Regions from separate parts of the Homo sapiens genome. Here regions 1, 2, 3 and 4 are each linked to region 5. Evidence: promoter capture Hi-C in 16 types of primary human blood cells and fetal thymus (Javierre and others, 2016). All regions are on one chromosome and are shown on one strand. Each heading gives the region's core, a stretch centred on a gene start or on the middle of the fragment in contact. The rest is flanking DNA. Distances are from core to core; before and after follow the strand shown.

Region 1 (5,563 bases), core at 1,380-3,879, 350 kb after region 5:
CCCCAGGAGAGTAATGTGCAGGATGCACAGCAAAGCTCTGAAGGCCGGGGAGCGTGGAGGCAGGCCAAGGTGGGGAGCAGAGCCCAGGCACCTGATCAGAGGCTGCAAGCAGACCTTGCCGGGGCAGAAATAGCCACTGCAGCAGCAGACTTTTTAATATCCACAGAGGAGGGAGAGATCAAAGGCACAAACAACCAAACTATGAGGGCCCAGACGGATGGAGGTCAAGGCTGAGCACCAGTTGATTTCTGACATAAGTAGAAGACAAATCTAGTCACAATTCAGATGAGGAAACAACCAAAAGTGAGCAAGCACGTCAAACTGTGAGCACAGAGACAAGGCACGGAGCACAAAGCCCCAGGTGTCTACAGCGCTGATGGCAAAAGAGAGCCCTGAAGACAGAACAGGGCCTTCCCTGCCTTCCTACCTCACGAAATACCCCCCACCAGGCACTGGCCCCCGCCCTACCCATCTCCAGGGAACCTGACACAAGGGGGCAAAGGAGAAGTGTTCTCTTACCCTGAGTAGAGATCAAGGGGACAGTATTTGCTGATCTGCTTCCACTTCCCAGTTGCTACCTGTGAAAACACCAACAGGAGGGCATGAGGTGACTGGCGCTGGTGACTGCACTGTGCCAACTGAACACACAGAACAGCATCAGTGATGAAGACAATGAAGACGAGCTGCAGCCTTGCCCCGGAAAAGGTGCCACCACCTTTGCAGGTGCACATCACTAAGTGGCGGAGGGAGCCACTTGACTTCCATTCAAGGAAACCTTGGCCCCATCTGTGAGACATGATGTGGCGTGGCCCCCAGGCCAGCCCTTCACAGGAGCAGGGAAGAAAGTGGCAAACACCTTCAAATTACATGGCTAAATTTTGGTAATGAGAGTAACAAACCTTCAGAAGTTATAATATCCAGTAACAGGGAAGGTGTCCTTAACAAGAAATTTCATATTGCCAGTGGGAAGATAAGTTGGCATAACATTTTGAAAGGCAACTTGCTGGTATCCACCAAACTTTAAAATGCTTATGTCCCCTGGCTCAGCAAATCTACAAGGAACCTAGAAGAAGTAGCACAGGGCAAAAAGGTACAGACACAAGAATGTCCACTGCGGCCTTACTGCTAATAGCAAACCCTGAAACCAAGAGAGACACTCATCAGTAGGGAAATGACTAAATAAATCACAGCCCATCCACTAGTGGGACCAGCACATAGCAAACAATTTATTGAATGAAGAAATGCATAAATGATATGCAGCCACTACCAGAAAGAGGTAGAGTTAAAAGTCACCAAAATTTATTCAAGGAAAAAAGCAACTGGCAGAACAATGGATACAGTGTAATGTCAATTTTGCTTAAAAAAAAAAAAAAGCTTATGTGCAAATATCCATGCATATATCCAAATATGCACTGAAAAAGCCCTAAAGAATATATCACAAACAATCCTCAAGGATTAAGTGAAAAAAGCAATTAGACAAAGTACATATGGCATGATCCCATTTTTGCTTTGCAAGGGTGTGTGTATGCACGTACAGGCATGTAAACATTAGAACATGTGGACAGAGATCACTTCATTTCCACCTGAATTACATGCATATTTTTGTGGGCACAGGAAGAAGTCTGGAAAGATATGCAAATATATCTGACAATATGAGTTACCTGGGAAGGCAGGTAATCCAATTCATGCCATGTCATATGTTACCAGTTATATGAGCAGGTAGTGCTTTATAGTAAAATGTATTTCTTAAACATCTGTCACATATGTTGAAAGTGAATGGTGACCATGAAAATTGCATCCCAAGGGGCATGGCTCACATAACCGTCTTTCCCCTAAGAGCTTAGATAGTAATCACACCACAAAGAAAAGAAGGGGTGATGTTGGTGAAATAGTGGAGCAATGACCTCCAGAAATTCTCTCCTCTGTAAAGGCAATCAGAAAACTGGTTAAAAAAAAATGTCAGAATCAAAAAGTTTTGAACTCTGGAAATTGACCATAGACTTGCAACAATCCAGGAAGCATTTATTCAAGAAAAACAGCTAAATCTAAGCAAGATCAGTGAGCTTGTTGGCACTTTAAATGCCCTATTCCCATCCCTGTATCTCTAGCTCCAAGGTTCAGAACCTTGAAAATGAACAGCCGCAATCACAGTGAAAACCAGCTGCCCAGCAGCCACAGAGGACGCAGATGAGGGCAGGACATCTCCAAAGCCTCGTTCTCAGACAATCACTTATTTGACCTGTCTCTGGGTTCCCGGAAAGATCACACTTGCAAGCGTTCCCGGAAAGATCACACTTGCAAGGCTGTCTTCACTGACCTGGCTCAGAACTCACCCGTGCAGGAGGCCTTTTCCCCATGGGCATTTGTCAAAAACATTTAGAGGCAATTGTTTAACTTCATGGTTTCCTTGGAAGGAAACCCACTAGCTGCCCACTAAGCTAACTGAGCAGACTTTATTGGCCACATATGACAAAGAATACAGACTTCACAAAATTAGCGCAGAAAAGTCCCTAAACAAACAGTAACAACTACAAGAAGCAGCAATAAAAAATCCTGGAGAGGGAGTAGAATCTAATTCCAGAGGGGCCACATTATATTATTTCAAATGCCCACTTTCAACCTATCATCACAAAACACGCAAAGAAACAAGAAAGTATTGCCCATATACAACAAAAAAAGCAATCACTAGACTGCCCTGAGGAAGCCCAGACACTGGACTTACCAGACAAAGACTTCAATCAACTATTTTAAATATGCTTAGAGCTAAAGGAAACTAGGGACAAAGAACTAAAAAGAACAAGGAGAATAATGTCTCAACAAATAGAGAATATCAATAGAGAGGTAGAAATTATAAAAAGGAACCAAAAAGAAATTCTGGCTGGGCATGGTGGCTCACACCTATAATCCCAGCATTTTGGGAGGCTGAGGTAGGCAGAGTGCCTGAGCTGAGGCGTTCGAGACCAGCCTGGGCAACATGGTAAAACCCTGTCCTACAAAAAATTCAAAAACTAGCTGGGCATGGTGGGGTGCGCCTGTAGTCCCAGCTACTTGGTGGGGGCTGAAGCAGGAAGATGGCTTGAGTTCAGGGAGTCAAGGCTGCAGTGAGTCATGTTCACGCCACTGCAGTCCACTCTGGGTGACAGAGCAAGACCCTGTCTAAAAAGAAAAAAAAAGAAAGAAAGAAATTCTTTAGTTGAAAAGTACAGTAACTAAAATGAAAAAGTAACTAGAGGGGCTCAAGAACAGGCTTGAGTAGGCAGAAGAGAAAATGATTGAATTTTAGGATAAAGACCAAGAGATCTACACCTAGACACACCATAATCAAACTGTCACAGGACAAAGCCCAAGAGAGAATCTTAAAAAGCAAAAAGAGAGAAGTGGCTCATCCCATACAAAGCACCTTCCCTAAGATTAACAGCTGATTCCTCCATGGTTTCATTAGAAACCATGGAGGCCAGGAGGAGGCAGGATCATGACATATCCTCAGTGCTAAAAGAAAGATTGCCATCCAAGAATTCTATATCTACCAAGACTATCCTTTGAAAATGAAGGAGAAATTAAGACATTGCCAAATAAACCATAACTAAAAGAATTCATTGCTAGAAAACCTACCCTACAAGAATTACTAAAGGGAGTCCTTTTGGCTGAAATAAAGGATACTAGATAGTAACTCAAATCCACAGGAAGAAATAAAGAGTATCAGTAAAGGTAACTACATAGGCAAATATAAAAGAAGGTATAAACACATTTTGTAATTCTTGTTCCTCTATATAATTTAAGAGACAACTGCATAAGGTAATAATTACAAATCTGTATCACCCAGAACATCATGTAGAAACATCTAATTTGTATCCCAATAACAGCACAAAGGTTGGGGGAGGGAGCAAAGCTTTAGAGGAGCAAAACTTTGTCTATGATTGAAATGGAGTTGGTATTAACCTGAACTAGACTGTTCAGGTTATTATCTTAAATTAACACTCAGAGCAACGAGGCAGAAAGTCAACAAGAATGAAGGCTTGAACAACACTATGAACCAACTAGACCGAACACATCTATAGAAAATCCACCCAGCAACAGCAGGTTACACATTCTGCCCAAGCAAACATGGAACAGTCTTGAGGAAGAACCTTATGTTAAACCACAAAACAAGTCTCAATACATTTTAAGAGTGAAATCATGCAAACAATGTTCTCCAAATACAGTGGAATGAAACTAGAAATCAGTAACAAAAGAAAATTTGACTCACAAATGTGTAAAAAGTAAACACTCCTAATTATCAGTTCGTCAAAGAAGAAAGCAAAAGAGAAATCAGAGAATGAATTAAGATAAAATGAAAACACAACATACCAAAATGTATGGGATGAAGAGAAAGCAGTTACTTAAAGATTTATTAGAAGAATGATCTTAAATGAATAACCTAACTTTCTACAATAAAAAGCTAGAGGCCGGGCACGGTGGCTCACACCTGTAATCCCAGCACTTTGGGAGGCCGAGGCAGGTGGATCACGAGGTCAGGAGATTGAAACCATCCTGACTAACATGGTGAAACCCCGTCTCTACTAAAAATACAAAAAATTAGCCAGGCATGATGGCGGGCGCCTATAGTCCCAGCTACTCACTGCACTCCAGCCTGGGTGCAGAACGAGACTCCGTCTCAAAAAAAATAAAAAAATAAAATTAGAAAAAGAATAACACACTAAGCCCAATCCAAGCACAGGGAAGGAAACAGTAAAGATTAAAGTGAAGACAAATGAAATAGAAAATGGGGGAGAGGGGAGCAGAAAACTGAATAAAACCAAAAGTTGTTTCTTTGAAAGATCAACAAATATGACACAATCCTGTGGCTAGACCAAGGAAAAAGAGACAGAAACCAAATTACTAAAGTCAGATATGAAAGAAGGGGACACTACTACTGACCTGTATGCCATCACATTAGATGAAAATGGACAAATTCCTAGTAACACACAACTACCAAAAAAACCCACTCAGGAAATAAGAGAATCTCAACAGATTGGTAACAAGAGACTGAATCAGTAATCAAAAATCTTCTAACAAAGAAAATCCCAGGACCAAATGCCTTCACTAGTGAATTCTACCAAACATTTCAAGAAGAATCAATACCAATACTGAAACTCCTTCAAAAAACTGGAGAGTGAAAAGAAAATAATTCCTAACTCATTCCATGAAGCCAGTTATTACACTAGTACCAAAGCCAGACACCACTAGAAAACTACACACCAACATCCCTTATGATTCAAAAACCCTCAACAAAAAACTAGCAAACTGAATTCAGCAGCATATAAAAGTATTATACACCATGAGCAACTGGGATTTATCCCAGAAATGCAAGGTTGGTCCAACATGCGAAAATCATGTAATATACCATATTCATAGAAAGAGGAAGACACCTTGCTTTGAAGTGATAAAAATGTCAGCAACTAGATAGAAGTGGTGATTGTACAACCTTGTGAAGAGACTAAAACTGAATTATATATTTAAAAGAGTGAATCTGGTGAACACGGGCCGGGCGCAGTGGCTCACACCAGCACTTTGGGAGGCCAAG
Region 2 (5,553 bases), core at 2,782-5,281, 490 kb after region 5:
TTTGGGTCATGGGGGTGAATGTCTCATGAATAGAGTAATGCCCTCCCTTGTGGGTGAGTGAGTTCTCTCTCTATTAGTTCCTGCAAGAGCTGGTTGTTAAAAAGAGACTGAAACCCCTTTGTCCTCTCTTTCCTCTTCTTTTGCCATGTGGTGTCTGCACTCATGGGCTTCCCTTTGCCTTCTGCTATGAGTGGAAGAAGCCTGAGCAGCCTGAGACCCATTGGCAGAAGATGATGCCAAATCTTGAACTTTCCAACCATCAGAACTATGAGCCAAATAAACCTTTTTTCTTTATAAATTACCTAGCTTCAGGTATTCCTTTATAGCAACACTAAATGTTCTAAGACAGATGGAGACACATGGGGAGATCTGGATGAAGCTGGGAACATTAAATTTCTAAATTCAGATGTGTTTTCTTTGCCAGTAGAAGCTGTTCCACCCACATCTGAGGAGATTAATTCTGCTTTGTTTGAGGAAACTGTAATGGCTCCCTGAGAAAATTGTCTTACAAAACATTGCTAATTTTCCTCAGGACCCACTCATCCACCCATCACCACCTGTCTTTGCATCTATACCGACAACTAGAATTACTCTAAGCAGGCCTTGAAAGATGAGGCACAAAGTATGACCCACAAGGAGATGCGTTACACTTCAAACGAACTGCATGATTTTTCCAGTTTATACAGATAGAAATATGGAGAATATGTATTGTCACAAAGCAGAGATTCTAGACTCAGTGTTGTGGCTCAGATGGATGGAAAGAACTCTAACTGTTTGGTTGGTTAGTTGGCTGAAACATGAACCAAAAGGTGGCCTGCACTAAATGAAGTTGAAGTGTCAGAACTGCCTTGGTGTATTCTAGTAGAAGGTATCCAGAGGCTTAGGGAGACTGGAATGGTAGAGTGGATTTCTTATGCAAGACTGGCTTCTCTGCCCCTGGTGGGTTCAGAGAACATACCTTTCACCATGATTGTGAGAAATAAATTTGTGAGGGAGTCCCGGCATCTTTGAAAACCTGTGTGGTTGCTTTTATCTGTAGGTAAAAATTACAGTGAGAACTGCTGCCACTGAGTTGGGAAACCTAAATCCACTTAGGTAATTGGATCCCAAGGTGGCAGAAGCCAAGGGGAGGCACTTAATTGCCAAAGGCAAGGTGGGTGGGGTTGCTATAATGAACAGCAGAATCAAAGCAGCAATCAGAATAGTCTGACTCACTCAGACCTATGAAGTTGACTAGTTGATGATTGTGTTGCTAGAGGTGAAACAGACAGGAAGCCTACTACATTCTTATTTGATCTGCGTAAGCAAAAGAGTTCTAGGTCAGGTAAATGGAAGTCTAACTTGAATTACCAGAGCAGAGTCATGGTCCCTCAACTAATGCCCAGACTCTGAACCCTTTGAATGGAGAATCCAGGTCACCTTGAAGAAGGACTGTGCTACATTGTCAAAAATTTAAAATGGTTTATCTTTCTTACAGCCTTCCCTAAAGGGACCCACAGCTTTTCATCAGGGTGACTGCATTATGGGAAGGGAAATAATCAGACTTTTTGGGGATTGCTGGGCACTAGCTCTGACGTGACATGAATTCCAGGGGAACTAAAATGTCACTGTCACCCATTAGTCTGAGCAGAGTTTTATGGAGGTTAGGTGATCAATGGAGTTTTGGCTCAGGTCCTTCTCATAGTGGGTCCAGCGGGCCACTGAACTCATCCTGTGGTTATTTCTCCAGTTCTAGTATGCATAACATTGGAATAGACATGCACAGCAACTGGCAGATTTCCCATATTGATTCTCTCACCTGTGGAGTGAGGGCCACTATGGTGGGAAAGGCCAGGTGGAAGTCACTAGAATTATCTCTAACTAGGAAAATAGTAAGCCAAAAGTGTACTGTATCCCTGGAGGGATTGCAGAGATTAATGCCACCACTAAGGACTTGAAAGATGCAGGGTTAGTGATTCCCCTATCATCCCCCATTCAAATCACTTCTTTGGCCACTGTAGAAGACAGATGGGGCTTGAAGAATGACAGTGGATTATCTTAAGTTTAACTGGTTATTAACTCTAATTGCAGCTGTTGTTCCGACGTGTTTTTGTTGCTTGAGCAAATTAACACAACCCCTGGTACTTGGTAGGCAGCTATTGATCTGTCAAATGTGTGTTTTTTCCCTCAATAGCTGCTCACAAAGACCACCAGAAGCAGTTTGTTTTCAGTTGGCAAGGCCAGAAATACACCTTCACTATGCTACCTCAGGGCATATTACCTCTCCAGCTCTATGTCCCTCTCTGCTTCTGGTGACGCCTGCCTAGGTCTAAGGGGTCTTGTGCAGAAAGTCTCTAATGGTCATCACTGGGACAGCTTTTCCATACTCTTCTATCATGTGGCCTTGTCTTCCACCCTAAGGGATCTTGGTACATTGTGGGCAGGGCTCTGCTGACAGTAATGTTTTGATAACCAAATGGTACTTATGACTTAGGACAATTGCTATTGTTACAGAAACGCCAGGGTTCAGTCTAGGTCCTGTTGCTCACCACACAGGAAGCCAACCACTGAGACAAGTATTGCCAAGGAAGAAGGCTTTAATTGGGTGCTGCAGCCGAGTAGATGGGCACTCAGTCTCAAATCCATCTTCCTGACTGACTAAAACCAGGGGTTTATATAGCAGGCAAGAAATGTAACAATGTGTAAGAAAACAGAAACTTGGGAAGGGCCAGGAAGTGATCATGGTGAATGAGGCCTCCCTCATCTGGTGTCCCTCACACTCCCAGGCTGGAGTACAGTGGCACGACCCCGGCTCACTGCGACCTCTACCTCCTAGGCTCAAGCAATTGTCCTGCCTCAGCTCCTGAGCAGCTGGGACTATGGGCGCATGCAACCACACCTGGCTAATTTTTTTTATTTTTTTATTTTTAGTAGAGACAGGGTTTCACCATGTTGGTCAGGCTGGTTTTGAACTCCTAACCTCAAGTGATCCGCCTACCTCAGCCTCTTAAAGTGTTGGGATTACAGGCGTGAGCCACAGTGCCCGGCCTATGACCATTTAACAAGCGCAAACTATAACAGAAAGCCTGGGATGGAATGCCAGGGGGCTTTCTAATTTACTTTTATGTAATTCCATGGTGATTAGAGAATACATTTTGTATGATTTAAATTATTTTAAATTTATTAAAACTTGTTTTATGGCTCAGAATATGGTCTATTTTGGTAAATGTTCCATGGTCACTTAAAAATAATGCATTCTGACCTGGTGCGGTGGCTCACGTCTGTAATCCCAGCACTTTGGGAGGCCGAGGCTGGCAGATCATTTGAGGTCAGGAGTTCAAGACCAGCCTGGCCAACATGATGAAACTCTGTATCTACTAAAAAGTACAAAAATTAGCCGGGCATGGTGGTGCACACTTGTAGTTCCAGCTACTTGAGAGGCTGAGGCAGGAGAATCGCTTGAACCCGGGAAGCAGAGGTTGCAGTAAACCGAGATTGCGCCATTGCACTCCAGTCCAGCCTGGGCAACAAGAGCATAACTCCGTCTCAAAAAAAAAAAAAAAAACGCCGGGCATGGTGGCTCACGCCTGTAATCCCAGCACTTTGGAAGGCCAAGGCGGGCGGATCACGAGGTCAGATCCAGACCATCCTGACTAACACGGTGAAACCCCATCTCTACTAAAAATACAAAAAATTAGCCGGGCGTGGTGGCGGGCGCCTGTAGTCTCAGCTACTCAGGAGGCTGAGGCAGCAGAATGGCGGAACCTGGGAGGCGGAGCTTGCAGCGAGCCGAGATCGCGCCACTGCACTCCAACCTGGGCGACAGAGTGAGACTCCGTCTCAAAAAAAAAAAAAAAAAAAAGCATTCCTACTGCTGTTGGGCGGGGTATTTCATTAATGTTAATTAGATCAAGTTGATTGATAATATCATTCAAGTCTTCTATGTCCTTGCTGATTTTTTTCTATCTATTCATTCTTTTAATTGTTGAGAGAGGGATGTTGGAATCTCTGATTATTATTGTGGATTTTTCTATTTCTCCTTGCAGATTTCAAATGATATCATTTTCATCTGCCTGAAGGACTTTTTAAAAAAATTTCTGGTCGGGTGCAGTGGCTCACACTTGTAATCCCAGCACTTTGGGAGGCCGAGGTGGGTGGATCACGAGGTCAGGAGATCAAGACCAACCTGGCTAACATGGTAACACGGTGAAACCCCGTCTCTACTAAAAATACAAAAAATTAGCCGGGCGTGGTGGCAGGTGCCTGTAGTCCCAGCTACTCGGGAGGCTGAGGCAGGAGAATGGGGTGAACCCGGGAGGCGGAGCTTGCAGCGAGCGGAGATCGCACCACTGCACTCCAGCCTGGGCGACAGAGCGAGACTCTGTCTCAACAACAAAAAAAATTTTCCTATACTACAAGTTTGCTGGTGATGAATTTCTTGACTTTCACCATGTCTGAAAAAGTCTTTATTTTGCCTTTTCTTTTTCTTTTTAGGGTCTCCCTCTGTAGCGGTCTCCCTCAGCCACCGCGCCCAGACCATTTTGCCTTATTTTAAATAATATTTTAGTTGCTTATTGAAGGTTGATTGAAGGTTGATAACCCCATCCTTAGCCCCCAGTACATCAAAGATGTTGCTGCACTCTCTTCTGTCTTGCATTGTTTCTGAGGAAAAATTTGCTGTTTCTTATTTTTGTTGTTCTGTAATACTATATCTTTTTCCTCTGGTTGCTCCTTTTTTTTTTTTTTTTTTGAGACAGAGTCTTGTTCTGTTGCCCAGGCTGGAGTGCAGTGGTATGATCTCAGCTCACTACAACCTCCATCTCCCAGGTTCAAGTGATTCTCCTGCCTCAGCCTGTAGCTGAGATTACAGGCACTTGCCACCACACCCGGCTAATTTTTTGTATTTTTAGTAGAGACTGGGTTTCGCCATGTTGGCCAGGCTGGTCTCGAACTCCTGACCTCAGGTGATCCACCTGCCTTGGCTTCCCAAAGAGCTGGGATTACAGGTATGAGCCACCATGCCTGGCCTTCTCTGGCTGCTCTTAAGATTTTTCTCTTTATCACTGGTTTTAAGCAGCAATTTGATTATGATGTGTTTGGTGCTGTTTTCCTCTATTTTATGTTGCACTTGAAGTTGATTGAGCTTCTTGGATTGAGCTTCTTGGTTGATTGAGCTTCTTGGTTGAGCAGGGTTTCTCAACCTCAGCCCTATGGGGCCTGGGGAGACTGTCCTGTGCACTATAGGAAATTTAGTTGCATTCCTGGTCTCTGCCTACAAAAGGCGGGTAGTTGTGACAACCAAAAATGACTCTGGACATTGCCAAATGTTCTCAGGGGGAAAATAACCCCCAGTTGAGAACCACTGGTTTAGAGTTTTTTAGATCAGGTTTGGAAAATTTGGGGCTGTTTCTTCAATAATGTTCCCTTTCTCTATTCTCTCTTGCAGGAGTTCCAACTACATGTGCATTAGTCTGATTGAATTTGTCTAACGACTCACTGATGCTCCATTAATTTTCTTAAGTCTTTTTAGTGTTTCATTTTAGACAGTTTCTATTACTATTTCTTCAAATTCAC
Region 3 (5,544 bases), core at 2,941-5,440, 330 kb after region 5:
CTACGCTTTGAGATTTAGAAATCAACAAGCCAAACCCCAACTTCAAAAGCTCCTGCCGAGGAGAGGAAATACTGATCAGCACGTCCCTGCTCTGACGCTGCTCACCATGGCCTTGGCGCTCACTGCTGCCCTGCCCCAGAATCCTGTTTGTAGAAAAAACAAATCCCTGACTAAGCTGCTGGGGTAAGTAACTATTCTCATCTGAAGAGTAAACAGCAAATAACTCATTTACAAATTAAGGTCATGAGTCTCGCTCCAGAAGCTGGAGTGTGCCTGCAGCTCATCCCAAGGGGCCACATTTTATTGGGAGAACCTCAGAAGCCCAAGGTACTGCTCAGTTCTGAGGCCTGAGACCCAAGCTGGGTGCACCTGGGCTGGAACAGTCACATCCCCAGCCCATGACTAGGGTTACGTATTTTAAAGGACACCCCAATTTCTCAGAAGCAGCACCTGACAAGACCATGGGTGTAAAGACAGGAAGGATGTTCCAGGCAGCTCCCGGGGAGGGTCTGACTACCTGGGTCAACCACAAGCTAGCTCCATGGGAACCAATGGCAGTGACCAGCGGGCACCAGCTCCTGACACAGAAATGCTCTTCTTCCCCCTCAGTACCCCGGAGGCCAAGACTGGGCAAGAGGCCCCAGGGACACACCTGTCCCTTGTGCCACAAGTGTGCCCTCTAGCAGCCTTGGAGAATGAGGCTCAGGTGGCCTTCTGGCTGCAGGGGGGCAGCCCTTGCCTGGAAGGCCGTTCTCCAGGACACTGACCCGCTGGGGGTTACCGGGGGACCAGCAGCCTCCAAGGGTGCTGGGGATCGGGGTGGAGAAGCCAAGGCCGCACACTGTGTTTCAAATGGGAGGTCGAGAGGAGCATCAGGGTTTAGGCCGGGAAGCTGTGGCAGCTCTCTCCACAGTTCCAAATTCCCAAAGGGACAAAGCTCTGCAGCGACAGGAAGGCAGATCCAACTTGAGACATTTTCCTTTATGACAGGGCAGAAACAGTAGTGCAGAGCTGGAGAAGCCTTTATTTTAGGGGGTGTAAGAAGTTTAAATGTGGTCAATCTATCTGTGAGCTGCAAATTAGTCTAGGGATCTAAATTTAGTCTCAGGTCTACCAGGTATCTCAAGACGCCAAGATGACTCATGATAAATCCCAGCCTTAGTTTGTCCCTAGGCCTCTAGAGCACCACAGTTACTGGAACTTCACAGGTGCGGCCACTGCGCACACCTTCCTGGAAGCAGGCCCAGCCCCACACGCCATGTTCTCGGAGGAGAAGCCTTCTCTGAGATCCTCTCCTTTTGTTGAGAAAGGCCTGGCTAGAGTGCTTTGTGCAGGATGGTTCCAGTGCCTACACCCTAGGTCTGAGAAGCCACATGGCTCAGTGCCTTCAGGACATGCCCTCCCCTCCCCTCCTAGTGTCGTTTCTGCTGAGCAGCTGGTCGTAAGGACCCGGGCCTTCAGCTTTCCCCGCATGCTGGCTTTCCAATTTGACATCACTGACCAGGCACTAAGAGATTCCCAGGTGCTAGACGAGGTGAGTAACATGTCTGTCCTTCAGCGGCCTTTCACAGCCCACCTAAGGGCACCCTGCATCCAAGCACATTTCCATTGCCCAGCTGCATCCTTGGTCGGGGGGCTGCTGAACAGTGGTATCTTCGTGGGTTTTCTCTCATCGAACACCACCAGCTTAATCCAGTTAAGGAATTCCTCATAACTTAGCCCTGTAGGTATTTCCTTAGGGGATAACAGGAGTTTTCAACTAAATAGAACAACCTTTTTTCTACTTCAGTTAGCCCTATAATGTTCCTCAGTATTTCATATTGGAAAGTAAACAATTCTGTGCCTGCCAGGGAACAGGAATCCTGGGAACTGTTTAGTTCAAAAGCACCGGGAAAGTGAGTGGCTGGCAGCCAGCAACCAAGGTCATCTTGACCCAGGAACACATGTTAGAAGAATGTGGAACATTCCGCAAATACTGGGTGCAGGGTTTAGCACCCCTGAAGATCGGTGATGGAGATGCTGTCTAACGACTATGAGATTATCAGTTTCATCCCGAATTCCCAGAAACAGAGGGGACTGGACAAAACTAGTGACATTAGGGAGAGGGGCGGCACATAGGCTGGTTATTCAGAAGAGGAAGCAGAATGAATGCGCGCCTCACAGGCTTTCAAATGACTGTGGTGGTAAAAAGGCAGGTGCGCCATGCTGCCACTGTGGGAGACCGAGGAACAAGGGCCACAGGTACCCACACATCTCAGGGGCTGGCTTTCTTTGAGGGAATGCAATGGGCAGCTCACTGTCCACATTGTTTCTGAGCTCTTGGGAGTATTTTCTTAGAAAACAGTAACTTTCAATGTACTAACAATCCTTTTAAGTTATTCTCCATAAATCTGTCTTTTGACTGAATTACAAGCTTCTAGAGGGCGAGAGTTAGTAAGCCCCATGATGTCACATAGGCCAAGGAAGTTATGTCACTCCGCCATGGAGTCTCTAAATATGGGGAAACCAACTATCCTATTAACAATTCACCAACTGTCCATAAAACCCCGTTAGACCCAGGCTGCATGCCTTGCAGTGGGGGCCTCACCTGGCATCCTGCAGACAGGGAGACAGTGCAATCATGATGGAGCAGTCCTTGGCAGTCATGGCGACGCGGTACTGCTGCACCTGCAGGGGCGGGAAAGATCAGCTCCAGGTCACACAGGAAGCCTCTGCCCCCCCACACAACCTTCCTTCCCAGTAGCCAAGTGTGGGAACTGCTTCCTGCCTCAGAACCTGAGGGTGGGATTAGGAGCGAGGGCCACGGTGAGCACGGGCGTCAGGAGGTCGCCCTGTGAGAGCACCTGGGCCAGCCCTCAGTGCCACGGGGCTGCTCAGAGGCCAGCACCGCCCCCTGACCTCTCACGGCAAGCAGTGTGGGACCCCGACTCCAGACCCTGAGACGGATGATCTGTCTTCAGCAAGGTCACCACAGTCGGCCTTTGGAAGGAAAAGCAGTAAGCCACCTGAGCCCCGCATGTTGGCCACACTCAGAGTATCAAGTGAGTATCACTCGACACCTGCAAGGAGAGCGCAGGGGGTGTTCAGCAAGGCATCGCTTAGAACGACATTCCCTCCGGAACATCATACAGCCACCAGAGACAACGGCAGACGGCCACCCTTCTACAGGCTGTGCATGTGTTAACTTGCTCCACCCTCACAGCAGCCCAACAGGGCAGCACGGCCGGCGTCCCACTTTACAGACAAGCAACAGACACAGACATCACTTGTCTGTCATGCCCTGCTTGTCAATGGCAAGGCAGGGACTCAAACCCGGTACGCTGGCTCTGACATTTACACTCTTCAACACATGCTCCAAGCTATGTGGGTCTGTCCATACTGACCAGGGACAGCTCAACACACACCACACTGTCAGAGTCGACATACGTAAAGCTGTACATGTGCACATGTGTGTGACGCGGGCAGGGAGAAAGGTGAAGGACAGGCACCACAATGCTCACAACTGTCTCCTCTACAGAGCAGAATGTGAGGCACTCTCTCCTCTTCCTTCTTTGGACTTTCATATATGGTTTGCATTGTTTTAGATGGCATAGCTCTCGCTTTCACAAAAATAAACAGTTGTAAAAGAAAAGGAATTGGGCCTCACACATCACTGGCCTCAATATTTGTACTGATGACAGACCATCATCTCCTGTCTCCCTTTTAACCACTCCCCTCAATTGCATATAACCTGGAGGATCTGGCGTTCGAAAACATCCAAGCTGCACTTTCCAAAGGGCAGGACTGGATGGGAGGGAGTGGGGAGAACCTCAAAGCACGGATTTAGCTCAGGCCCACACACTATTCTTGGGGCCTGAGAAAACCTTTCACAGCAGATGGAAATGAGCAGCTCCTATCCTTACACTCTATTCAGTTAGCTAGAGTACAAATGGATCAAAAGTTGATTCTTAGGAAACTAAACTCTTGGTGGGAATGATTAAGGGAGTGTCCTAGCCCCTTCAGGCTGCTATCACGAAATGCCCAAAACTGGTAGCTTATAAACAACAGAAACTTGTTTCTCACAGTTCTAGAGGCTGGGATGTCCAAGACCAGGGCGCCAGCAGATCTGCTATCTGGCGAGAGCCGACTTCCTTATCCACAGCCCTCTTTTCACTGTCACTTCACATGGTGAAAGGGGCTGGCTTGCGCTCTGGGGTTTCTTGTATAAGGGCCTGAATTCAAATCATGAGGGCTCTACCCTCATGACCTAATCACCTCCCAGAGGCCCCACCTCCTAACACCATCACCTTGGGAGTTGGGATTTCAACATATAAATTTGGGGGGGTGGGAGGGTAAAACATTCAGACAGTAGCAGAGAGGGAGAGAAATCAAATATCAGACATCTGGAATAAAAGAGCATACTTCAAATCCTATAAACATGAAAAGATAATAAAAGAACATTACCCAACAACATCATATGCCAAAATTCTGAAAACATAGATAAAACAAAAAATTTCTAGAAAAATACAACTTACTAAAATTTGAAACTTTCCTACAAAGACAACTATGGGGCCTAGCTGATTTCACAGCTGATTCTACAAAGCATTTAAGTCAGAAATAATACCATTCCTTTTTTTTTTTTTTTTTTTTTTTTGAGACAGGGTCTCGTTCTGTTGCCCAGGCTGGAGCACAGTGGTACCATCACAGCTCACTTACAGCCTCGACCTGCAGGGCTCAAGTAATCCTTCCATCTCAGTCTCTCAGGCAGGTAAGACTACAGGTATGCACCACCATACTCGGCTGATTTTTAATTACTTTTATTAGAGACGAGGTCTCGCTATGTTGCCCAGGCTGGTCTTGAACTCCTGAGCTCAAGTGATCCTCCCACCTTGGCCTCCCAAAGTGTTGGGATTACAGGTGTGAGCCACTGAACCCAGCCGTTGTTAATCCACCTCTTCCAGGCAACAGAGAAAGAGTAAACAGACCATCTTTTAAGTGTTTTACGGGCAGGTCTAGGCCTCGACACCAAGGCTGAACACAGACATTACAAAAAGAGAAAGCACAGTTCTTATCACTCATAAACATCTGCCAAAATCCCTAAACAAAATATTAGCAAACCCAATTATCATCATACAGAAAAAGAACACATCACAACAAATTGCATAATTAACCACGTTAACAGAAAATATTTTGGTCATATGATCATCTCAATAGAAATAGAAAAGGCATTGATAAAGTTCAACATCTGCTCCTGATTTTAAAAAATCCTCTTAATAAATCAGGAAAAGAAGGGAACAAACTTCTTTAATCTGATGTCAGCCACTTAAGGAAAAAAAAACCTACATTAAACAATTTACTTGATGGTAAAATGCTTTTGAGATTTGGAACAGGACTAAAATTCATACTATCACAAATTAACTACATAAAGTGAAGTAAAATAAAGAAGTGAAAGGTATAAGGATTGGGAAGGAAAGGGAAAACATCAAATTCACAGACTACGATTACATATAAAGAAAATCCAAAAGAAACTATAATCGTTAGGATTAATACAAGTGAGCAAAGTTG
Region 4 (5,359 bases), core at 2,691-5,190, 370 kb after region 5:
TACCAAAACTCAGACACACTCAGCTCACCTATTCTCTACAGCCCATGCCAACTGCCCCATGTGAGGGACCTGATCAGGCTGGGCTGGCCGAGGTGGGTGGTCCCCAAGATGTGCCAGGCTGAGGGCTTCGTAATGCATAGGCCACAGGGCCCCATTACCCTCATGCAGGCAGCTGGCAGGAAACAGGTGAAAAAACACTGTAGCAGCTCTCATTAGCAGAAAGACACAATGAGTCCAAGGGGCACCCATGGCTGGGGAAGAGGGGGTCAACACAGCCACCTGGGGGACTTCACATGAAGGAGTGAGCAAGAACCAACACCCCAGCAGGCTCCGAGCTCCTGCCAGCTCACCAGGTCTTAACCAGCTATGGAGATAATGACACTACTCCTCTTAAAAAAAGTATCTGAAACCAGATATTTGAAACTTACCTTCTTCTTAACGTCTAGAATAAAATGTTAAAAGTGAAGAAAAAGGGCCAGGCGCGGTGGCTCATGCCTGTAATCCCAGCACTTTGGGAGGCCCAGGCGCGCAGATCAGCTGAGGTCGGGAGTTCGAGACCAGCCCGACCAACATGGAGAAAACCTGTCTCTACTAAAAAACACAAAATTAGCCCGGCGTGGTGGCACATGACTGTAATCCTAGCTACTCGGGAGGCTGAGGCAGAATCACTTGAACCCAGGAGGCAGAGATTGCGGTGAGCCGAGATTGTACCATTGCACTCCAGCCTGGGCAACAAGAGCGAAACTCCGTCTCAAAAAAAAAAAAAGTGAAGAAAAAGAGTTAAGATTGGAAGGGAAGAACTTGATACTTCTGCAGTCTGAGGGCTGGGGTGTTTCTTAACAAAAGCAACGCTAAACCAAGGCCCAAGCCACACCTTTATGTCTTGGTAACAGGGAAGCTTCCACCTTGGAAAATTAGATGAAAATCAAGGATTCTAACAAGCCAAAAACACCAAACAACAGGAAGAACAAGAGGAGTGATGCATTTATACACACACACTAAATAACCCCAAGATTTAAAAGGTTAAGGGACACAACTCGTCACTTACAAAAGTGGCAAAAAGCATTTCAATAAAAATCCCTTTCTGGGCTGCAGCGGAAGGGTAGGTGGCACAGCCATGTGGAAAGCGATCTGCAACGTGTGCCAAGGGGCCTAATTCACCCAAGAACCCAGCCTGAGCATCAGAAGTCCAAAGAAGTGTGTACGAAGACTTTCGGCAAAGCCCACCCACAAGGATGTCCAACGCAACACTGGGAACACGTGAGCACCCTTCAAGACATGCATGAGGATTTTCTACATATTTGTGCTATAAAATTAAGTGAAAAAAAATCCCAAAACAGAAACAGATACGTAGTGTTGTTAACTACCCAATAAAGACAAAATACAGTCATGCATCACATAACAACACTTGGGTCAGTGATGGACTGCATGAAACAATGGTGTGTCCCATAGGATTATAATACCACAGTTTCTACCTTTAGATAACAAACACTTCCCATTGTGTCCCAATGGCCTGCAGTACTCAGTCCAGAACCATGCTGCGCGGGTCTGAGGACTAGGAGCCATAGGCTGCCCCACACAGCCTGGGCATGGGGCAGGCTCTACCATCTAGGTGTGTTCATATGGCAACAACATCACCTAACAATGCAGCTCTCAAAATGCATCCCTGGTGTTAAGCGATGCTTGACAATAAATAGAAAAAGACTAGAAGAAAGTGCACCAAAGTGTTAACAAAACTTGTTCTCTTCATGGAGAAATATTGGATGTTTTTCACTTCCTTCCTTCTGATATTCTATATTTTCAGAGAGAAGAAGCAACAATTGGTGTTAAATAAAAATAGAAGGCCACAAAAACCCCAATACATTAAAAGGGACACCTGCCAATGGGAAGCCTGAGGGGGCACCTTATGGGTGGAATTAAAGCTACTAACTACAAGAGCCTTTCAGGACAGATGAGGAGAGACTTTCCCGCCACCCACAGAGGACTCACTCTGGAGGGGTATCACCCACAAAATCAGCTGTTCCAGAGATCTGTCAAAAGACAAGGACCAAGGTCAAGTCTTCCATCAGGCTGAGGAGATAACCTGAAGCTGAGATCAGACAACTTTCATGGGAAGGGAAGACAGAAAAAGACAACAGCAGCAGGGGTCACCCCTCAGGATGCCTTCTAGAAGCAATGCTCAGCTCCAGCTTCTTCCGAATTGTGAAGATGACTCCCAGGCAGGGGCCATGGGGGATCCCAAATGTCCAGTCTCAAGAGGCTGCCCTCCCTGTAGACCCTCCTTAGCTTACCCCCGCAGCTCCAGCTCCAGCTCTGTCCCAGCCAGAGAAGGCTGCCCGGGGTCTGTCAGTCACCAGGGGCAGGAGGTGCCGAAGTCCACCTCTGCAACCCAGAAAGGGATGTCCAGGATGCGTAGGACCGTGGAGGGAACAAGAAGCAGGGCTTACGGTACTGGGCTCCAACAGGAAGCGCTCCCAAGGGTGAGCTTCGCTTCACTGGGAATGTATGGCCTCAGATAGAAATACAAAGCACATTTGACACCGGATGAAAAGTGACATCACCAAGATGCCTGTGGAGGATGGGAGCCCAGTACTCTGCAGGCAAGAGCAGGGAGGCCAGACTGGAGACAGCCTGGGGTCAGGGCGCAGTAAGTGCTGGCCCCTTGTCCAACCTGTATGGGGCATGTCCTCAAGCCTCGGCAACTCCGTCCTGACCTCATGGTGTCCTCTGCAGGACTGAAGCAGGCACAGGTGTGGGCCATGGGGGAGGTCACACACCCACACAACTCTCAGAACATGGGGAGGCCTGTGGGGATAGGCACACCTCGTGCATGGGGCTGACCCCTATAGGCATGGAAAGCCTCACTGCCTGTAAAGGGGAAGCAGGGCTGCCTAGAGGCCCACAGTGAGGGCCACAGGGAACTGTGAGCAAGTCCGGGCCCTCAGATCTCCCAACCGCTTGGCAACAAGGCAGGAGTGGCCGGGCCCTAGGCACAGCCTTGCTCTCTGCAGACACAGTAATGATGCTTTTCTCACCCTCCTGGATCGCAGCTCTCAGAAGACACAGGAAGTCACTGGGGAGCTTTGCTCTGACTGAATTCTGATGCAGAAGGAGGCTCAGTCAGGCAGAAGAAAAGTGGCTGTGTGACCTCAGAAGGTGTAAAAGTAGGAGGTGAGCCAAGGCCAAACCAACAAACCCCCGTGCACGAGAGGCACTGTCACAGGCTGCAGTCACCAAACAGCAGACCTCATCACGCAACTGCAGATACAAAGAAAGGAATAAACAAAGAGCGAGCCACAAGCACAGCTCTCCAATGAGCTCAAATGAGACAAGAAGGAACATCACCAGGAAAGAAGCCACATCAGCTGCGTCAGCCTAGAGCGCCACTAAAAATCCCAAATGCAGAATACATCACTAGTTTAAACAAAATGCTAGCAGTAACAGAAAGCTAAGACTATTTCAACTAGGTCCAGCTAAAAATTGTAAAAGGGAGCGACCAAGGGCTTGGGCACATGTTATACAGTCAGAAAAAAACAGAGAACATAAACGTATGTGCTTTCAGCATCCACAGTAGGAAGTATGGCCCAGTTAACAGTCCTGCAGGACTGCACAATGGCTTTCCACTTAACCTGTTCTAAGTGATTCTGTAATGGATATCTTTGTGTATAAGATCTTTATTTACGTTTCTAATTATCTCCTTAGAACGGACTACTAGAACAGAAATTAGTAAATCAAAGAGTATAAACTTTTTAAAAATTAATCTTTTTTCCTGAGTATCATACATATCCATTGTAGGAAATTCAGAAAATATTTAAAAAACAAAAAAAAGTAAAAGTGATTCGTGATACTATCAGTTACAGCCACTTAGAACATTTTCATCTATTTTCTTCTAATCATTTTGTAATTATAACCACATCATGCATCTTCTTTTGTAACCTGCTTTTTCTACGTAACTGTAAACACATCCTCATATAAAGGACTTAATTCATCCACTACAAAATAATCATTTAAATTATTAAAATATACAAAATCATGCTGTATGGCAAAAAAAATACATATATATATGATCTATGAACCAGAAATCTTAAAACACAAGATGAGAAGAGAAACAGTAGAAGGGCACCTGACCGCTTGAGCTTCACACCTTCAATGCCCAGACAAATATCCCAAGCACTAAACAGGTACCAAAGGGACACCAAAACTCCCCAGGCAACAAAACAATTTGCAGAAATGATCTGAAGCTCTCAGACTCTCAGAAAGGTCACGAAACTGGAACAACTGGAAGTGAGCAGCTTTGTCCACACATGTGATCAATTTAGTTGGCTGGTAAGCCAACTAAATGGCAAAGTCTTTCCTGTCACCTCTGTCAGTAAGAAGGAAAACATCATGACAGCTTAGTGTCATGACAGGAGTGGGCCACCTTCTGCCCCTGCTCCCCAAGGCTGAGGTGGTCCGGAAGGGGCTCAGTGCCCCAGACAAGTGCATGATCCAGATCTGAAGACACCTAGGAGATGGAATGACAAACCAAACCTAAAGTGACCTTCATAGGACAGGACACTGAGCCAAAACCAACAAGCTGAAGGCGAAGGAGGCAGGCGCAGGCGTCACACAGGAGAGAAATCCTGCGGCAGTGCATAAAGGGGCAACCTGTGGACTTCACTAACCTGAGATGTGGCCACTGGCCCAAGTACTGCACCTTCAGGCTGCAGCGAGGAAACTGTGCCCAGATGGGAAGTTCCCTCATCAAGGAGCCCCCACAGGGTCAGTGTCTGGAGCTCCAGACACACACCAGGGAACATGCCAGGCTGCCGAGAGCCTCTCAAGCATGCCACAGGGTCCACACCACATGAGGCAGAGAACACCATGGTTACCTGTGCCTGGGAAAGTTCAGGTGCACAACCATCCCAAACAGAGGCAGAATGCAAACTGACAGGCAAAATGAGAATCATCCTGGGCCGTCTCTGAGTGGAAGGGCCTTGGGGAAGCTGACCACCTTCTGTCAGGAACACCTTTAAACGCCTCTCTATGGCTGGCCTGCTATTTACCTTCCTGCCCACCCTGGGCACAACCTCCCACCCTCCTGTAGCCCACACCTAGTTCCTCCATCCCCAGGCCTCATTTCCTACAAGTCCTGCGCTGCACAGAAGGCTCTCTCTCATCCCATGTTTGCATACTGCAGGAAGAACATCACTGTGCTCCTTCTAGTGCTGACAGCCAATGACCATGCAGATCTCCTTACCTAGGCCCTCGGCTCCTGCAGGACGAGCTCAGGCTGGCTGAAGGCGCATCATGTTCTCATGGTAGAGGGGATGGGGGTCAGCACAGGACTCATTAGGGACCTTTCAATTCTGAGAGAAGC
Region 5 (5,597 bases), core at 1-2,500:
CTATTCAGGAAGAATCATGTACCAGCGACCGGGCTATGGCAGCTGCTGAGGAGAAGCAGCCTCCATGCATAAATCACAGGATTGCTATGGCCCATCGAATCCACTGGAGAGCTGTCCATGCACAACAGCATCCAGCAACCACAGGGCAGGGACAGAGCAGGTTAACCTTGCACAACAACCTTGTTGTGCAGAGGGATGCCATCCCCTTTGCTTCCCTCTTATTATAATCCAGGCCCTTGACTCTTCGCTGCTCCACAACTCCTTCAGGTCACCTTAACCTCAACTTCCCGTTCAGCAATTTCGAGACCACCCTCCCTGATATTAACTACATATTATTCACATTACTTCATATTATTTTGCCTCAATATATTTTAGAAACGCACACTAAAACCATGTTTTGTTTAAAATTTCATAATTCCTTCCAGAATTGCTTCCCTTTTAAACTACTGTATTAGTGGTTCCAATATTCTTCCCATTACTTAGGCATGACATTTTTGAGTCACCCCTGACACTACTCAGAAGATACACACAACCAATTAATCATCAAGTCATGTGGATCCTACCTATAAGCCTATTTCTGTTCCCCCTTTTCATTCTCCTCTAAATCCATTTCTGTTTCTCCTTTTATTCTCAGGTCTTCATAATCTATTAAGTCAAATGTAACCTGAAAGTGGGACCGTCTCAAACGTTTCCTCAATTTAGTTATATCCTATTAACATAGACTCCACAGGTATACTCATGCAAATGTACAAAATGTGTATACAATGACATTCACCGAATAATTGTTTCTCCAGGCAAATAACTGAAAACAATCTAAATATTCATGGTGACTGAAGTAAATTACGGTACATCAATAAAATAAGTATCTCGCAGCCATTGAAGGTAATAAATTAAGACATATAAAAATACGTATTGCCTATACATAAAGTCACAGCTATATCAATTTATACTATGTATATCATTTTAAAAAGATTTTACTCATTTCAAACACTACCTCATTCAAAAAGGCGACCATAAATTCCTGAGGCTGGAAACGAACGAACGGCAAGCCCCGAAGAAACACGCTCTTTTAAAAATTAAATCTTGTGCTACTGTTTCGGGGTTGTAACGCGTGCGTGACCCTCGTCTTTGAGGGCCGGATCCTGCAGGGAAGAGAGGGCGTACCTGAGGGGCCTCGCGTGCCTGGACAGCCCCGCGGGCCAGCAAGCCTAAAAGCAACTCATCCGGCGTCCACGCTGCAACCGGGCGCACGGAGGTGATGCAACGCGCTGAAAATGCGGGATCCAGTGAAGGAGACAGGCTCCGCACCGGCCAATCAGTGCGCGCTGCCTGACACCTGCCAACAAGCCAGGCGCCGATTGGTCGCGCCGGACATGATTGCGCCCACTGGCTCGGATGGTGCGACAGTGGTGCTTGCTGGTTTTGCGCCTCCACGTGGAAAACGAACCAGCGCTGAGGGCGGCGCTGTGCGTGCTGCTTGTATCCGTTGCAGTAGTGTAGACCGAGGTCTCACTCGGGTTGTGGGCACCTCCGGGTAGGTGACGGCCCACTGGGAAGGGGCGCCGAGGTCGGGGCTCATGTTCTTCATCTTGTTTGCTTTTGTCAGTATTTATCTGACTGGACACTTCGTACCTAAATTGATAACGACAAACAGCAACTTCCGGAGAGGTGGCTTTAATAATTATACTTTTGGGCCCTGAGCCGCCGACCCCAAAGCCGCTTCTCCTATCATAAATGGCTACGTGAAACGATAATAACAAAAGGGAAGGAAGGGTCTGACAACCAGATTTAAAAGTTTTATTGTATTTTACTTAAAATGTTTCCGGTAATGAAAACATTGCACAAACGATTTTTTTTTCTTTTTTTGAGAAGCGGTCTCATTCTGTCGCCCAGGCTGGAGTGCAGTGGCACGGTCATGGCTCACTGCAGCCTCAACCTCCCCGGATCAGATGATCCTCGCACCTCATCCCTGGCCAAGTAGCTGGGACTACAGGCTAGCGCCACCACGCCCGGCTAATTTTTGTATTTTCTGTAGCAACGGGGTCTTGCTATGTTGCCTAGGCTGCTGTCAAACTCGTGGGCTCAAGCGATCTGCTTGCCTTAGCCTCCTTAACTGTTGGGATTACAGGCATGAGCCACTGCACCCGGCCTGCATACTTATTATCATTGCTATGAGTCGGCTTGGTACCTTACTGATCTGCTGGTTAAAATCTGGAGCCTTGCAAAGGGCAGTAGGCCTCGGGCTTTGGCCCCAGAGCCTCTAAAGGAAATTCTGGATCTTGCCAAATTGGGAGTAGTTCCGTAGCTGCCTATTGTATCCGTTAGAGGGATATAAAAAATTTATCTGGCCTAGAATAGGTAGAATGCAGTTTCTTATTAAGTTTAGGAACATTTTGATAGTCTGTTCAGCATATATTTAACTTTACTTACCGTCTTGGCCCTGTGTGAAGGATTAAAGTGGTTTCATGTCCTCCATCATGGGTAACTCAGTGTTCTGACTATACTCACATAACGTACATAATTTAATAGCTGCAAATCTTGTTAATTAACTGAAAGTATTTGGAATGTGTTTGAAGTTTTCACATTCCTCACGTTGCCACCTTGTTCAGTTCATTTTTGTCACCTATCCAGAGAGCCCAGATAGAGCCAGACAGAGGGCTCCTGGACAAAGGTGAGGTAGGCCAAGTCTAATTATTTAAAAATTTGATTGAGAAACATTTATATTAATAGTACTGTTGTGTTGGAAATAATGCTCAAAATCCTAAGGAAATTGAACATTCAAACAAAGGATTTTCAGCAAAGCAATTTTACTTCTGCGCAGAGGGGTGCTTCTCCTTGGCCAGTCACCATGAGAGCACACCAGAACAAAGGGGCACGAGAACCTTTATCCCTGACACAAACCCTGCCCCTGTACCCTTTCTCCATTGGCCGGAGTTGGGCCTCACAATCTAAAATAACCACAGTTGGCTAAACATTTTAACTTTCTTTAGATAAGGTGGGCACGTAAGAGAGAGGGGAAAGGGGGAAGGGCTGTCTGTAATGAGCTAGAGAGCTAGTCTTCTCTTCGGATAAGGAATACGAGCTGGTACTGATAACGCCTGGTACTGTGGCCTGTCTAGGCATGTAACAAAGGCAGAAAGGAAAGAGGAGAAAAAGGGAAGAGGGGGGCACTGTGAATTAAAGAATAAAGGATTGATCAGGCTATTTGAAGAGAAACCTCATCATGTCCCACAGTTGGAAGGTATGGGAAGACTAAGTCTAGAAAAAGTTAAGCAAATGAAAAAATTCCAGCAAAAAAGTTAACTGTAGTCAAAATATATTACTTGGACTGAAGAGGTGAATAATTTTTTCACCTTTTCAGAATATGTAGTGTCTGGAAGTGAAAAACCAAGAAATCAGAGCATAAGCATGTTAGGTAGAAACATGGAGGTAAATACTAGAGAAATTAAATTGCTGAAGGTGGTTTCATCTGGGGAGCAGGAACTGGGGGGTGGGCAAGGCTACTTGATGTTACTTATTTGTCTGCTTGTGAAACATGTGCCGGATTTAAATTACGGCCACACATTCTGACACTCCTCCCACTAAGAAGTGAGGATCTGTGTCCCCTCCCTTTCAGTCTGGTTGGGCTGTGTGTCAGTTTAAACCTGTAGAATACAGTGAAGTGACTGAGCCGGTTTCTGGGCCAGGCCTTAAGAGACAGGCAGCATCTGCTTCCTGCCTCTGAGAACACTTGCTCCTAGAGCTTTTTTGCTATGCTGTAAGGAAGCCCATGAACAGGCACTGAGTGGGCCATCTTAGAAACAGATCCCGTAGCCCTAGCTGAACCACCCCAGTGAAAGCACACAGCACAGATCAGCAGTCCCTAGTGAGTGTTGACCAAATTGCAGTATTTGTGCATAAAATAAATGATTGTTACTGAGATGATTTGCTATGCAGCAATAGAAAATAAGGTACAAATGTGATCTACATCAAGAGAAGGTAGAAAGTGTGAATTATTTATCCTGCTGCTTAGTTGTCCACACTCTCCTTGAAGTCTGAAGTTTTGGAAACCTAGGAATCCAGAATTACTCTTCAAGTTATTTAGTTCCTTGGACCCTTACTAAAAAAACATAGAGCATAAGCCCTAGGGTCATAATGGTTAACACACCAGATGAAATCCCAACAGTTAAGAGTTTATATTCAGCATAGGTAAATCAATAAATACTAATTTTAGGTACACACATCATGGCTTAATGATAGTCCCTTGGAACTATATAATACTATTTCTTTTTTTTTTTTTTTTTAAGATGGAGTCTCACTCTGTTACCCAGGCTGGAGTGCAGCAACATGATCTCAGCACTGCAACCTCTGCCTCCTGGGTTCAAGTGATTCTCCTGTATCAGCCTCCCTAGCAGCTGGGATTACAGGTGTGAGCCACCACACCCAGCTAATTTTTGCATTTTTAGTAGAGATGGGGTTTCACCATGTTGGCCAGGCTGGTCTTGAAATCCTGACCTCCTCATGATCCGCCCGCCTTGGCCTCCCAAAGTACTGAGATTACAGGTGTGCGCCATCACGCCCGGCCTATGTAATACTATTTCATACAGAGCCCATTTTGATAGGAGACGTATGTCTTGAAATCTAGGCAGGTTGGTTTATTTAATGTAATGTTAAATCTGTTTCCCTATTTGGGCTCAGGGTCCTGACTCCTAATTGTGACTACCTATCTTTCAGGCACTTGGTATTTTTCATAAGCTTTTAGTCTAACTAGAATTTTGGGATTGGTGTACATCTAGATGTTGTTCCTTAATTCCTAGAGGCAATGACAAGATAACTGTATTTGGCTTCCTCTCCTGGTCCTCACAGAACTCTTATATGATGTTGGTCTGAAATGTCCTATATTTCAGTTAACCATTCACCAAAACACAAGTATAAAACTCAATGTTGACTTGTAATTTATCAGTTTAAACAAAAATGACAAAATGGAAGGTGTATTTGACATAATCAGAAATAAAATTTCAAATAGCCTATAATTCACACAAAGCCTAGGCTGGAAAATACAAGTGCTTTGACTCATTTATTTAAAAAGGCTTCATATAAACCTTGCATGAGAAGATGTCCATTAGTTACTCAGGATAGAGGGCAAAGAGATTATATACAAAAAGTATTTTCAAGGACTATCTTGTTCTTCCTTTATAAGAAGTTGAATTTAATTTTTGAAGTAATTACTTAGGAAGAAATGCAGAGGAGTTCCACAGAAAAAGATGGCAACCAGAATGATATTCCGTCAGCCAGATTTTTAAAATTCCTTCACTCTGAAATTTCTTCTTTGTCAGCTAAAACTGTTTTCTGGGTCAGTTTCCTTAGGTGAGCCTTGTTCACATTCAGTATCAAAACCAGCTGACATTTATTATTTTGGTTTCATTTTCCTTTTTGCGTCTTTATGTTTCTTTCGACAATCCTAGGAAAAAAAAAAGACTTGGTTAGCAATAAACAAATTGTTTTTAAGATGTTCAGTAGATAGAAGTAAAACAGGTTATTCTCACTGTCAGGGCTGTGGAAACCTATTTTGAAAGTGCTCTTTTGAAATGAAGAGGGGATATTGGCATTTTTGGCAT

The links. Contacts are between HindIII fragments. The CHiCAGO score rates a contact against its expected background, and 5 or more counts as called.
Region 1: a contact is called between a fragment that was not itself captured here and the fragment with the promoter of IARS1 in region 5, in 8 of 17 cell types (erythroblasts, monocytes, endothelial precursors and 5 more). The highest score is 9.0, in erythroblasts.
Region 2: a contact is called between a fragment that was not itself captured here and the fragment with the promoter of IARS1 in region 5, in 1 of 17 cell types (naive B cells). The highest score is 5.4, in naive B cells.
Region 3: a contact is called between a fragment that was not itself captured here and the fragment with the promoter of IARS1 in region 5, in 1 of 17 cell types (endothelial precursors). The highest score is 6.6, in endothelial precursors.
Region 4: a fragment that was not itself captured here is called in contact with the fragment with the promoter of IARS1 in region 5 in 9 of 17 cell types (M1 macrophages, erythroblasts, naive CD8 T cells and 6 more); the score reaches 8.0 in M1 macrophages.

What each region holds. Positions count from the first base shown.
Region 1 is chr9:92,642,233-92,647,795 of GRCh38, forward strand. It overlaps IPPK (inositol-pentakisphosphate 2-kinase), which reads right to left. Exons shown (of 13, transcript NM_022755.6): 7 at 520-578. Among named protein-coding and RNA genes, the nearest start is that of IPPK, 25 kb to the right of the region's middle. The HindIII fragment of the contact is 2,515 bases long and covers 1,373-3,887 here.
Region 2 is chr9:92,780,916-92,786,468 of GRCh38, forward strand. No RefSeq gene overlaps it. Among named protein-coding and RNA genes, the nearest start is that of BICD2, 19 kb to the left of the region's middle. The HindIII fragment of the contact is 8,618 bases long and covers 1-5,553 here.
Region 3 is chr9:92,616,899-92,622,442 of GRCh38, forward strand. CENPP (centromere protein P) reads left to right here. Exons shown (of 8, transcript NM_001012267.3): 8 at 1-3,631. IPPK (inositol-pentakisphosphate 2-kinase) reads right to left here. Exons shown (of 13, transcript NM_022755.6): 12 at 2,588-2,667. It overlaps LOC100128361 (a long non-coding RNA gene), which reads left to right and starts at 1,152. Exons shown (of 1, transcript NR_036505.1): 1 at 1,152-3,635. RefSeq lists a silencer at 3,883-4,153. The HindIII fragment of the contact is 3,558 bases long and covers 2,412-5,544 here.
Region 4 is chr9:92,661,771-92,667,129 of GRCh38, forward strand. All of the region lies in intron 1 of IPPK (inositol-pentakisphosphate 2-kinase), which reads right to left. Among named protein-coding and RNA genes, the nearest start is that of IPPK, 5.7 kb to the right of the region's middle. The HindIII fragment of the contact is 6,089 bases long and covers 897-5,359 here.
Region 5 is chr9:92,292,447-92,298,043 of GRCh38, forward strand. IARS1 (isoleucyl-tRNA synthetase 1) reads right to left here and starts at 1,251. Exons shown (of 34, transcript NM_002161.6): 1 at 1,165-1,251. It overlaps MIR3651 (microRNA 3651), which reads right to left and starts at 101; the gene lies at 12-101. It overlaps SNORA84 (small nucleolar RNA, H/ACA box 84), which reads right to left and starts at 147; the gene lies at 15-147. It overlaps NOL8 (nucleolar protein 8), which reads right to left. Exons shown (of 17, transcript NM_017948.6): 17 at 4,912-5,440. The coding sequence ends at 5,390. RefSeq lists an enhancer at 1,633-1,682. The HindIII fragment of the contact is 5,187 bases long and covers 1-4,732 here.